Regions from separate parts of the Homo sapiens genome. Here region 2 is linked to region 1. Evidence: promoter capture Hi-C in 16 types of primary human blood cells and fetal thymus (Javierre and others, 2016). All regions are on one chromosome and are shown on one strand. Each heading gives the region's core, a stretch centred on a gene start or on the middle of the fragment in contact. The rest is flanking DNA. Distances are from core to core; before and after follow the strand shown.

Region 1 (5,624 bases), core at 70-2,569:
TTAAAACTTGATTTTCACTTTTACATCGCTCCTTTCTCCCAACTTCTGTTACATCGCTTCTGTTTCTCCCTGACCAGATGAGGGAGATAATATCAAGCACATCATGCCAGCTAGTTGACTGGAATTTAATTAAGAGTTATCCACAGCCTGGCTCCCCTGCCCTTCCCCATGGGCACTGTGACCTCCAAGAGAGGAGGCTCAGAGCTTTTATGCTGCTGAGCAGGACACATTTCCCACCACCACTGCCTCGCCAGGAAGAATCTAGTTTCAGCCAGTAAAATCACTTTCGGTCCAAAATCACTTTCTTATTCCAAAAGATTAATGAACCAGCCTTGGCTGTACACGTGTTAGCTCACTGGCCCGGCGTGAGCCCACAGTTCAGGTCCCCTCTGCCACCTCCTCCTGTCACTCCACGGAGCCTCCATTCAGTCCCTCAGCCTCCAGCCTTTTGGGATTTAGTGTTCTAATTACAATCAGAAATATGCTGTGTGTGTGTGTGTGTGTGTGTGTGTGGTTTGTGTGCGTGCGCGCGTGCGTGTGTGTGTGTACGTGCACACACACGTACATTCAGCATAGTAGAGCCCTCCTGGAGAAAAACAATGATTAAGAATGGGATGCATCATCCCTTTGACTTGTAGGTAAGACTTAATGGTAAAGATCCTCTCCTCCAAAGAAAAGCGCCTACCACTGTCTGCGGGTTCTGCACAGGGGCACAGCAAACCTTTCTCTGTGCTTACCCCAATCAGAATGCCACAGTCATGTCTCTACTTTCTAAACGTGGATCAGGGGAACGCTGTTTTAAATCTTGGCTTTGCATCTCCTCCCTGGTTAGCAAGTTCCCAAGCCACATCTTCAGAGCTGGCGGTGCCCGGGAGTACACGCAAACATTTTAACACCAAATCTGCGCCAAGCGCCACTAGAAAGCAACGTGCTTCCCGACCCAACCTCAGCAAAGGAAAACGGAGCATCCTTTCTTGAGAATCTACTATTTGGTACTACACCTTCCCTGCTCCCCGCAGCAATGATTTTACTTTATCATTGAAGAGCCTTCAGCCCAGGGGCGGCTGAGCGCTCAGGAGTGTTAGGAAAGAAGCAGGCGGAAACTTTACCGTTCACTGGGGCCGGGCTGGAAGGCTGTTCCTTTAAGATCACCAGCAGGAGCACGGCCGCCGCGTGCAGGCTGCGCCGGGGCATCTTCGCGGGCTCCTGCGGGGCGGGCGCGGGCTGTGCCGGGGGCTCCCGGTGGCCGCTCGCTCTCCAGCTGCACACCGGGACCGCGTGCGCGCAGCCTGGGTGCCGTGGCGAGTACGTCCGCCCTTCGCTCTCCTGGCTTCCCCGGGCAGCTTTTATGGAGCAACTCAACGCCAAACACTTGATGTCATCGTGCGGGGAGGGGGTGGGGGAGGAGAACGCCCTGCCCACCGGAGGGCTGGCGCCCCAGATCCTAGGTGAGTTGTAGCCTTGACTTCAGCAGCACTCTGCGGGTCCCCGGCGCTCCTCTGGGCCAGGGCTGACCCAGGAACACAGTTCTCCGAGGAGCTGCTGGCAGGCGTGGGTGAGATCCGCCTGTCTCACATCCAGAAGGGTGCGTCTAGGGATTCCTTCAGTGGCATGCCCTTGGTCTGTCACTGGTCCTGTAACAGCCCAACGAGTTCACCTTGCCCGCTGCTTAGACAGAGCCCATTTATCAAGACAGGGGAGTTGCAATGGAGAAAGTAATTCACGCAGAGCTTGCCGTGCCGGAGACCGGAGGTTTTCGTTCCTTTGTTTGTTTGTTTGAGACGGAGTCTCGCTCTGTTGCCCAGGCCGGAGTGCAATAGCGTGATCTCGGCTCACTGCAACCTCCGCCTCCCGGGTTCAAGCGATTCTCCTGCCTCAGCCTCCCGAGTAGCTGGGATTACAGGCACATGCCACCATGCCCAGATAATTTTTGTATTTTTAGTAGAGGCGGGGTTTCGCCAGTTTAAGGCTGGCCTTAAACTCCCGACCTCAGATAATTCACCTGCCTTGGCTTCCCAAAGTGCTGGGATTACAGGCGCCCACCACCACACCCGGCTAATTTTTCTAATTTTAGTAGAGACGGGGTTTCACCATGTTGGCCAGGCTGGTCTGGAACTCCTGACCTCAAATGATCCACCTACCTTGGCCTCCTAAAGTACTGGGATTCCAGTACTCAAATCAGTCTCCCCAAGCATTCCGGGAGTTGTTTGTTTGTTTGTTTGTTCAGACGGAGTCTCCCTCTGTCGCCCAGGCTGAAATGCAGTGGCATGGTCTTGGCTCACTGCAACCTCTGCCTCACGGGTTCAAGCGATTCTCCTGCCTCAGCCTCCTGGGTAGCTGGGATTACAGGCACGCGCCGCCACACCCAGCTAATTTTTGTATTTTTAGTAGAGACGGGGTTTCACCATGTTGGCCAGGCTGGTCTTGATCTCTTGATCTCGTGATCCACCTAAAGTGCTGGGATTACAGGCGTTGAACCACTGCACCCTGCCTCTGGGAGTTTTTAAAGATAATTTGGCAGATAGGGGCTTGGGACTTGGGGAGTGCTGATTGGTCAGGTTGCAGATGGGATCACAGGGGGGTTGAAGTAACGTTTTCTTGCAGTCTTCTGTTCCTGGGTGGGATCGCAGAACTGGTTGAGCCAGATCACACACGGTCTGAGTGGTGTCAGCTGATCCATCCAGTGCAGGGTCTGCAAAATAGGATGTTAGATTTTACAATAGCGATGTTATCCCCAGCAGCAACTTGGGAAGGTTCAGACTCTTGCAGCCTGACGCCGCAGGACCCCTAAACCATAATTTCTAATGTTGTAACTAATAGATTAATCGTACAAAGGCAGACTGGCACCCAGGCAAGAAGGGGGTCTTTTCGGGAAAGGGCTATTATTGATTTTGTTTCTGAGTCAAACCATAAACTGAATTCCTTTCTAAGGTTAGTTTGGCCTATGCCCAGGAATGAATAAGGACAGCATGAAAGTTAGAAGAAAGACTGAGTCATTTAGGTCTGATCTTTGTCACTGCCATAATTTCCTCAGTTATAATTTTTGCAAAGGCTGTTTCAGCCCTACTCAGAATCCCCCAAGTATAGTGCCATTTGGGCAAAAGCCTCCTTCATGCTTTTTTTTTTTTTTCTTCAGGTGCCTGCCTGGACTTAGCACAGGTTAAGGAACTGGACAAGATAGTTACATTCACATGAGTTTCTGCCAATTGTTCAGTGCATCCTGATTAAGTTCTTACCTTCCAAGTTGAGATGCAAAGAGATGAACTGAGAATAGGAGAACAGCACAGTGGGGTACACATGAAGAGCTTATCACAATTCCCCTTAGTAACGGGTAAGTAGATGGGACTCATGCTGGTTCAATACATCATTCCATCCTCACTAGGAAGCTGGGAGAGAGGGTCCCTCTTTTGGGGTGGCAGCAGAAGAAAGGGACTTACATTATTTACTGAGCACCCGTTGTGTGTCAGGCACTTTTTTGGGGGGCTTAGAACATGATACCCCAAAGTATGGCACCTTGGCATGCTGAGTACTTTGAACTGAAGGAAACTGAAAAGGCCTCAGAAACAAGGTCTCTCTGACCTTCTCCCATCCTCCTGTCTCCTGCCCCTTCTTCTCCCGCTAAGTGAATCATAGAAACCAGAATCCCTCTTCCCCAGGCAGGTCATAGAAAGTAGAGCCCCTCTCCTCCACAGCAAGCCATAAAATCTAGAAACATCACTCTCTCCCCTCTCCCTTCTCCTTTAAAGACCCTCATTCGAGAGGGGTCCTGCCCCATACCCAGGAGAAAGCAATGCTACACAGAGAGGTCAAGAAGAATTGGAACGGACAGGCCTTGCTGGGTTCCCCTCAGTCTATCACTATGAGATCACACCCTTCTCTCCAATCACATTTCTATACGGCCATCCATGTTCTTCATCAAACCTAAGCAGAAACACCGTTCTCCCTGAGTCTTTGGGTCTTCATTTCTGAAGTCTCTTGTGTCACTTGTTGGCCTGTCTTTTGTTATTTGAGTGTCAACTGTGACCTTTATGATGGGGGAGGAAAGGGATCACACCTTTCTGTCCCTACAGGCTGTGCTAGACCTACAGGCTGTGCTAGAGAAACAGGAGTGTTTCTCTAGTCTTGTTAACCTGCTGCCCCAATACCCCCTAAATCTTCCCACTGCTGTTGCCACCACTGTAGTCATTTGTGCTTCTGGCTTCCCTGGGCCCTCCGTGTGTCTCTGCACCGCTGCAGGGGCCAGGCTCGGTTTCCTCCCCGCTCTATGATCCTACTCACTGCTGCCTATGCACACTGCTCAGGTCACATGGGCTGCGGAAGGGTGTCCACCCCAGTTCTGGTACAGGACCCCTGGGTTTGTGACCTGGCCTGTCATGCCCTCTTCTCTTGGCCACAGCAGCCAGACAAGCCCTCTCTGATCTCACATCTGTGCTGACCCTCAGCCTGTGCACACTCTCAGGCCAGCCTTAGTGACCAATGAAGCCACTTGTCCGTGGTGGGTTTGAAGGGATGGAGTAACTTCTCCTCCAAGAGCCACCAAAAAGCAGATGCCACCCACATTTCAAGGGGTGTTACTGCTCTGTCCCTACCAGCTCAGCTACTGTGTGGGTTAATAAAGGGCTTTGAAGTCTCCTTAAGGAAGTTGTTACAAAGACAATCTTGTTACAAGCACTTCCAGACCACAGTAGGCTTAGGGATCATCTTTTCTGCCTGATAGAGGGCCTCGAGTGAGCTCTGGAGTGGTGCAGGAGTGTTTCTCTTGTTCAGATTTGTCATCAAGGGCAGTCTGTCTGTTTAGAAGATTAAATGGACTAGAGGAACACAGAGCTTGGGGAGAAACCACTGCAGGCTCAAAGACGCAGAGACCGAATCTGTGGAGGTGAAATCACTTGTTGCGCATGTCACAACCAGTTAAAGGTAAACTGGGCCATGCACACATATTTTGGTATTCCCACTCCAGGTGTTCACCCATCATGTCTGTCTAAACATTAAGTTCATTGTCTCCTGGAACATGCACCTCTAAGTATTCTCCAGAGATCCCCAGAGATGGAGAGGTTAAAATGGCAGAAACAGGTGGACTTCATAGACCAGTAAGGCTAGATTGTGAACTGGGTTTCATAGACAGAATGAACAGGGCTGAGATGTTTACTGCATGGCTGTGTCAGAAACTTGGTTAATTAGTAAATAATGGATAGCAATTAAAAGGGAATTGAGCATGTAAACTGAGACCCAGAATTATTATTATTATTATGAATGGAATGACCACAGGTATTCAAGTTGAATGTCAAGGATCCCCCCCTGACAAACAGCACAGACCCAACCAGCTTAAGTTCCCAACTCTGGGAATCCTTTGTCTGCTTCCTCAGGCTTGTGCAGATGAACATGCAAGGGCTTGCTGTGCCATCATCAGCTGGGGCTGTTGTCAGCCAATAAATAACCCATTGCTCAATGAGTTAGGGTAGAAAGTAGACCTTCTGCACTCAAAATGTGGCAATTGGCCACCAAATGACATGCCTAGACAGGGAATGGTACCCCCTAGGATGTTACCATCTGAATAGACACAAGGGTGAGGCTGGTGAGTCAAGGGGCAGAGAAGCAGGAATGAACAAGGATTTGGTGTTAGG
Region 2 (6,229 bases), core at 1,910-4,409, 210 kb before region 1:
TCCCTATGAGGTAGATAGTAATATTATCCCCATTTTACACATGAGGAAACTGAGGCACAGAGATAGTTAAGTACCATTCCTAAGTTCTCAGAAATGGTAACTTGCAGAACCAAGCTATAAACCTAAGTCTGGCTGAAGCTGAAGACCTTTCATCCTTATGAATATAATATATCTAGATCTTCCAACAAGATTTTTTTTAAATTTTGAAAACAAAACTCCCTAATGGACATTAGGCCTTCCTATCGTTTTCATCACTCATTATGTCTTTATTTCCAGTGCATTTGAACAAGTATCTTTTATATTTTCTATAAAGAAGTACCGAGGTCAAGGGCAATATAAAAATGATTAAGACCCTCTTGGGGTTTTTGAGGAGCTCAAGGTCATCTAATATTAGGAAGAGCCTGTATAAGCATAATTATAACATAATACTGAATATGATCTGTCATCCTGGAAACACAGGGCTCTAAGAGATTAAGGGAAGGAGTGGTCATGTCCACTAAGCATATACAAGTTATGATTTGCTGCATGTGAATGTTGCTAGATGAATTGTGTGAAAGAGACAGAAATCCCATGTTAGCCAAAGTAACCAACAGTGCCCAGGTGTGATCCTCAGTGGGACCACTATGACTTCTGGTAAGTTAGGTAGCCATGTATATTAGTCTGTTCTCACATTGGTATAAAGAACTACCTGAGACTGGGTAATTTATTTATAAAAAGAGGTTTGACTCACAATTCCACACGCTGTACAGGAGGCATGGCTGGGGAGGCCTCAGGAAACTTACAATCATGGTGGAAGGCGAAGAGAAAGCAGGCACATTGTCTTTGTTTGTTTGTTTTTGTTTTTGAGATGGAGTCTCCCACTGTTGCCCAGGCTGGAGTGCAGTGGCACAATCTTGGCTCACAGCAACCTCAGCCTCCCAGGTTCAAGCGATTCTCCTGCCTCAGCCTCCCAAGTAGCTGGGACTACAGGCATGCGCCACCACGCCCAGCTAATTTTTTGTATTTTTAGTAGAGATGGGGTTTCACTGCGTTAGCCAGGATGGTCTCGATCTCCTGACGTCGTGATCTGCCCGCCTCGGCCTTCCAAAGTGCTAGGATTACAGGCATGAGCCACTGCTCTCGGCCTGGCACGTGTTACATGGCCGAAGCAGGGGGAAGAGAGCTAAGGGAGAGGTGTTACAGACTTTTAAACAACCAGATGTCATAAGAACTCACTATCACGAGAACAGCAAGGGGGAAGGCCGCCCCCATGATCCAATCATCTCCCACCAGGCCTCTCCTCCAACACTGGGGATTACAATTCACACATGAGATTTCGGCAGGGACACAAATCCAAACCATATCACCATGTCTTTAAGTGAAGTAGGAAAGACACAAGACTTTAAAGGAAGGAATGGATCCTAGATAGGCCTGAGCCTCGTAGCGTGTTCTCAGTAAGCACTGTCCCTGAAGAAAAGACTCCTATCATGAGCTGTCAGCCAGCAAACCCAGGCAGGGATGATAGGAAGACCTGCAGAGGAGATCTTTGGAAAGAGCTTTTCCCTCAGTGTGACACTTTAGATCTCAAGGATCTCTCCAGAACAGTCCCAGGAATAAACGGATACACCTTGTTCTTTGTACTTTGATTGCAAAAACCAGCCCATCATCTGCCACCAGCTGGACCCAGTGAATTTTGGAGCTGCCTGCCATGCAGACATCTGAGATGTGCGTTGATTACATGCTCTGCCCCCCCACTGCCATTGCTAAGCCCTGCTTTCTGTTCAGGCAATGTGAGCCAACTGTGCCTTCCTGCTCCTCTGTTGTCTGCAGCAGTCTGTGATCAGGACTCAGAGGCTTAACCATAGCAGTGGAAAGCAGGATGCACTCCAAACTTAGCTGACTTTGGATAAAATGGCTCTAAAGCTCTTTTTCATTTATATACAACTTTACATTACAAAGCCCATCACAATCAGCATTAATTAAACCTGCCACTCATTGCCCTCTGAGGTAGAGCTGAATTAGTCTGCTTATTTTACAGCTGACAAAACAGACAGAAAGGCTTAAGGATTTGCTGAAGTGAAGTGGGGTTCAATCAAGGAAGCCTGGCATGATTCCCTTTCTAGTTCATTCTTCTTCTCCTGGAGGAGGACTTCAAAATGCCTAGCTCCTAACTCTGAGCAGCTAAAGGAAGCCAAGTGGGAAGAGAAGCTTGGCAGAGCAGCCGTGGCGATCTAGAACAGAACATCAGTGTGAGGTTTGGATGATGTGAGCACAGCCAGGTCATGTTTTCCTGATTCTCAGTGGATATTACACACATGCGCGCGCAAGCACACACACACACATGCGCACACGCACACACACATACACACACACACACACACACAGTTTCCCTTGTTGGGTCAGGGAGCAGAAGGATGTTGGAACGTAGTTGGAGCGCTGGTTGGCAGCAATGCTCTGTTTGACCTGGTGGCAAAGTGGCCCACCCATTACCCACACTCCAACCACTTACCAGAGCCTTTATATTAGAATTTTAAACACACTCAAAATCAAACACATTCCAAGGACAGGCCCCATTTTGTGGGGCATGGAGCAAGAATGAAAATGAAAACCAACATATCATATGTCTAAATATTTAAAAATTCTAGCCAAAGCTAACAAACTTGGGTTTCCTACCTTGACAGATATACCTTTACAATGATGCAGATAATTGGTTTGAATTTAGAATATTTCAGCTCCTTAGAGGTCCATACCAAAACGTGGTGGCCCAGGAGAGCAGCCCTGGCCCAGAACAGTGCCCTTCCTTCACCCCTCAAATTGGGCCCACATCATGAAGGGCCTCACACACACACGATGTGGATTCCAGCCCATATGTCCAAGCGCTGGCCATATCATCACCCCCTTTTGGTGGCCACTTGGGGCTATGGCCCAATTGTACAGTCCACCCTCAGAAGGATAGATCAGGGCTGGGTGCAGTGGCTCACACCTGTAGTCCCAGTACTTTGGGAGGCTCACTTGAGGTCAGGAGTTTGAGACCAGCCTGGCCAACATGGTGAAAACCCGTCTTTACTAAAAATACAAAAATTAGCTGGGCATGGTAGTAGGTGCCTATAATCCCAACTACTCGAGAGGCTGAGGCAGGAGAATCACTTGAACCCTGGAGGTGGAGCTTGCAGTGAGCTGAGATTGCGCCACTGCACTCCAGCCTGAGCAACAGAGCAAGATTCAGTTTCAAATAAAAAATAAATAAAAAAGGCCGAGCACGGTGGCTCATGCCTGTAATCCTAGCACTTCGGGAGGCCGAGATGAGTGGATTGCCTCAGCTCAGGAGTTCAAGACCAGCCTGGGCAACACGGTGAAACCCTGTCTCTATTAAAATACAAAAAATTAGCCGGGCGTGGCCATGTGTGCCTGTAATCCAAGCTACTTGGGAGGTTGAGGCAGGAGAATTGCTTGAACCCCGGAGGTGGAGGTTGCAGTGAGCTGAGATCACACCACTGTACTCCAGCCTGGGTGACAGAGCGAGACTCCGTCTCCAAAAAATAAAAAAAGAAGAAAAAGAAAGAAAGAAAGATCGATCAGGAGAAGAGGCCCATACCAATCCTGGAAGCAGGGCCATTGGCAGGGAATCCTGAGTTCTGGGTACCTGGAATGTAGCCTAAAAAGATGGCATGGCTCTGGGTGAGTAAATCCACTTAGCCTGTAAACTCCTTGCCCAGTGGAGAGGACTGACCAGAAGAGAACAAGGGTAGCATAGGGCTCTCTACACAGTGGGCCCCAGGGGAAGAGGCCCCTCTTGCCAAGACCTAAGAGCAAATCATATCTGGCCAAATAATAAATAAGCCAAAGATGTGAGTTAATAGAGTCTGCACAAATCTGGGTACCATTATTTCTACCTCAACTATACAACACAAAGGCATGAGCTGTTTCAATATTTTATCTGCTACCTCCAATAAATAACTTACTTATTCTGGGCAGTAGGCATTATCTCCAGTAGGTATAAGGGCCAGAGAACAAATGAATGAGCTCCATAAGTAAATATTTTACTGCTAAGGTTGCACTCCCATACAAAACCAGACATCAAAACTCTAGAGGATGATCCTAAGGTCAGTGCCACTGCTGCTGCCTCCCCAGAATGGACCAAGGGGGTGGAAGAGAAGCTTGATTCCCTGGACTGCTGGGCATTGCTTTTTGTGGGGGTTGCTTGGGTCAGTCAAGGTTGTGAGGAGCTGTCAGACAAAACAGCTTCTGTCCACATCATTTCCTTCAGAATCAGGGTCATGATCACAGTCCTGGCTTTGAGATGCAAAGAAGCTAAAATTATGAGCTTCCTTATTGTTCCCCCATATCTCAGTTTTGCATAATAATTTACAACATTTAATATTAAGGGAAATATGTCCACATGTAAAAAGTATTTTCATCACCAAATTCTCAAGGCAAAAGATGTAAGGAAATGTGTACAATGTTTATTTGGATGCAAATTCGTTGTTGTGTGTTCAAACGTTAACAGCATTGAATTCTGGATTCTCGGCTCAGGCGAGGGTTAGTTCAACTTTCTCCAACAATACTGTTCATAATATATGAAGGATACATTCCTTAATGATCTTTGGAGGTTGGTTATATAATTTAATTTCCTTAAAGTTTTTGTTTTGTTTTATTCTGTTTTTGAGACGGAGTCTCGCTCTGTCGCCCAGGCTGGAGTGCAATGGCACGATCTTGGCTCACCGCAACCTCCGCCTCCCAGGGGGTTCAAGTGATTCTCCTGCCTTAGCCTCCCAAGTAGCTGGGATTACAGGCGCCCATGCCCAGCTAATTTTTGTATTTTTAATAGAGACAGGTTGGCCAGGCTAGTCACGAACTCCTGACCTCAGGTGATCCAAGAGCCTTGGCCTCCCAAAGTGCTGGGATTACAGGCATGAGCCACCACACCCGGCTTCCTTTAAATTTTTTCGCTTTTCATATGGAGGTAGAAACAGAGCCCAAATCAGAATTTAAAAGTTGGTTCAGACTAGTAGGTGGTGGTCACTTCTGGGGTGTAAACAGGCAGGTTCTTTTCCTACCCCCTTCACCTTCTCCCCAACAGATCCACTATCTGTTCAGATAGAGCCATTCTGGAAAGCTAGGGACAATTTTTATTCCCTGACTAATCCCATTTTTGGTTGTCACTTGGCAACTTGGTCTATATTGCAGCCTGTACAAGCATCCAGCTTCCCGAAGGCATCCCTGAAACCTCGCTCAATGCAGTTCAGGTTCCCATGTCATCTTGATTCATCCTCCTTGCTCATCCATTTAAGGTGAATTGTGGGTCTAAAGTAGGTGACTCAACGCTGGTCAGCAAGACCTTGCTGGGATGGTTCACCCAAGAGCATTGCTCTTAGGTGATGCTGTTGATTGCTAGTAAAACCCAATGTCATTGATACTGAGTGTGGTAACCTTCCATGTATCAACAATAGTTAGGGAATTAGGTGTTCTAATACACTGGGTAATCCACTTAATTATAGACTACCAGTGTCTAAATAAATATAAACTAGTTTTGAAATAACTATAAGGCTGCGCGCAGTGGTTTATGCCTGTAATCCCAGCACTTTGGGAGGCCGAGACGGGTGGATCACTTGAGGTCAGGAGTTCAAGACCAGCCTGGTCAACATGGTGAAACCCCATTTCCACAAAATAATAAAAAAATTAGCCAGGCGTGGTGGCGCGCTCCTGTAATCCCAGCTACTTGGGAGGTTGAGGCAGGAGAATTGCTTGAACCTGGGAGGCAGAAGTTGGAGTGAGCGGAGATTGCACCACTGCACTCCAGCCTGGGCGACAGAGTGAGACTCTGTCAAAAAAAAAAAAAAAGAACTATAAACTAGCACCACAGTACATTACCAGTATATCATAATTCTACCTAGTATTTTAACTATTTAAGTGTGGGTCCCACCTCCCATGAAGGCCATGTGCTTCTTACGGAGTGGTCTGTGTCAGTTCATCTTTATTCCTCTTATGGTATCTAGTAAGTTGCTTTATATATTGTAGGTGCTAAAAGAGCTTTTGTTGAATGAAACTATAGAACACAAACTATCATTTACTAACATGACTTAATCCTGTGATGACTCAGAAGGCCCTCCAGGATCACACATTTCTTCAAGGTTGTTATTATGTGTGTTATCTATGGGGATGTTTAAACACAGACCAAGTGGTTGAAAGGGGAATTCTGCAGTGCCTGGAAGATAGGACTTGATAACTACCAGCTCATTCCAATTCTGTG

What was found. The method cuts DNA at HindIII sites, captures the fragments that hold promoters and counts their contacts. A CHiCAGO score of 5 or more calls a contact.
Region 2: a fragment that was not itself captured here is called in contact with the fragment with the promoter of CA12 in region 1 in 2 of 17 cell types (M2 macrophages and M1 macrophages); the score reaches 5.4 in M2 macrophages.

What each region holds. Positions count from the first base shown.
Region 1 is chr15:63,380,527-63,386,150 of GRCh38, forward strand. CA12 (carbonic anhydrase 12) reads right to left here and starts at 1,320. Exons shown (of 11, transcript NM_001218.5): 1 at 1,110-1,320. The coding sequence starts at 1,194. RefSeq lists enhancers at 1,004-1,524, 1,525-2,044. The HindIII fragment of the contact is 7,810 bases long and covers 1-5,624 here.
Region 2 is chr15:63,171,222-63,177,450 of GRCh38, forward strand. No RefSeq gene overlaps it. Among named protein-coding and RNA genes, the nearest start is that of RAB8B, 15 kb to the right of the region's middle. The HindIII fragment of the contact is 1,949 bases long and covers 2,186-4,134 here.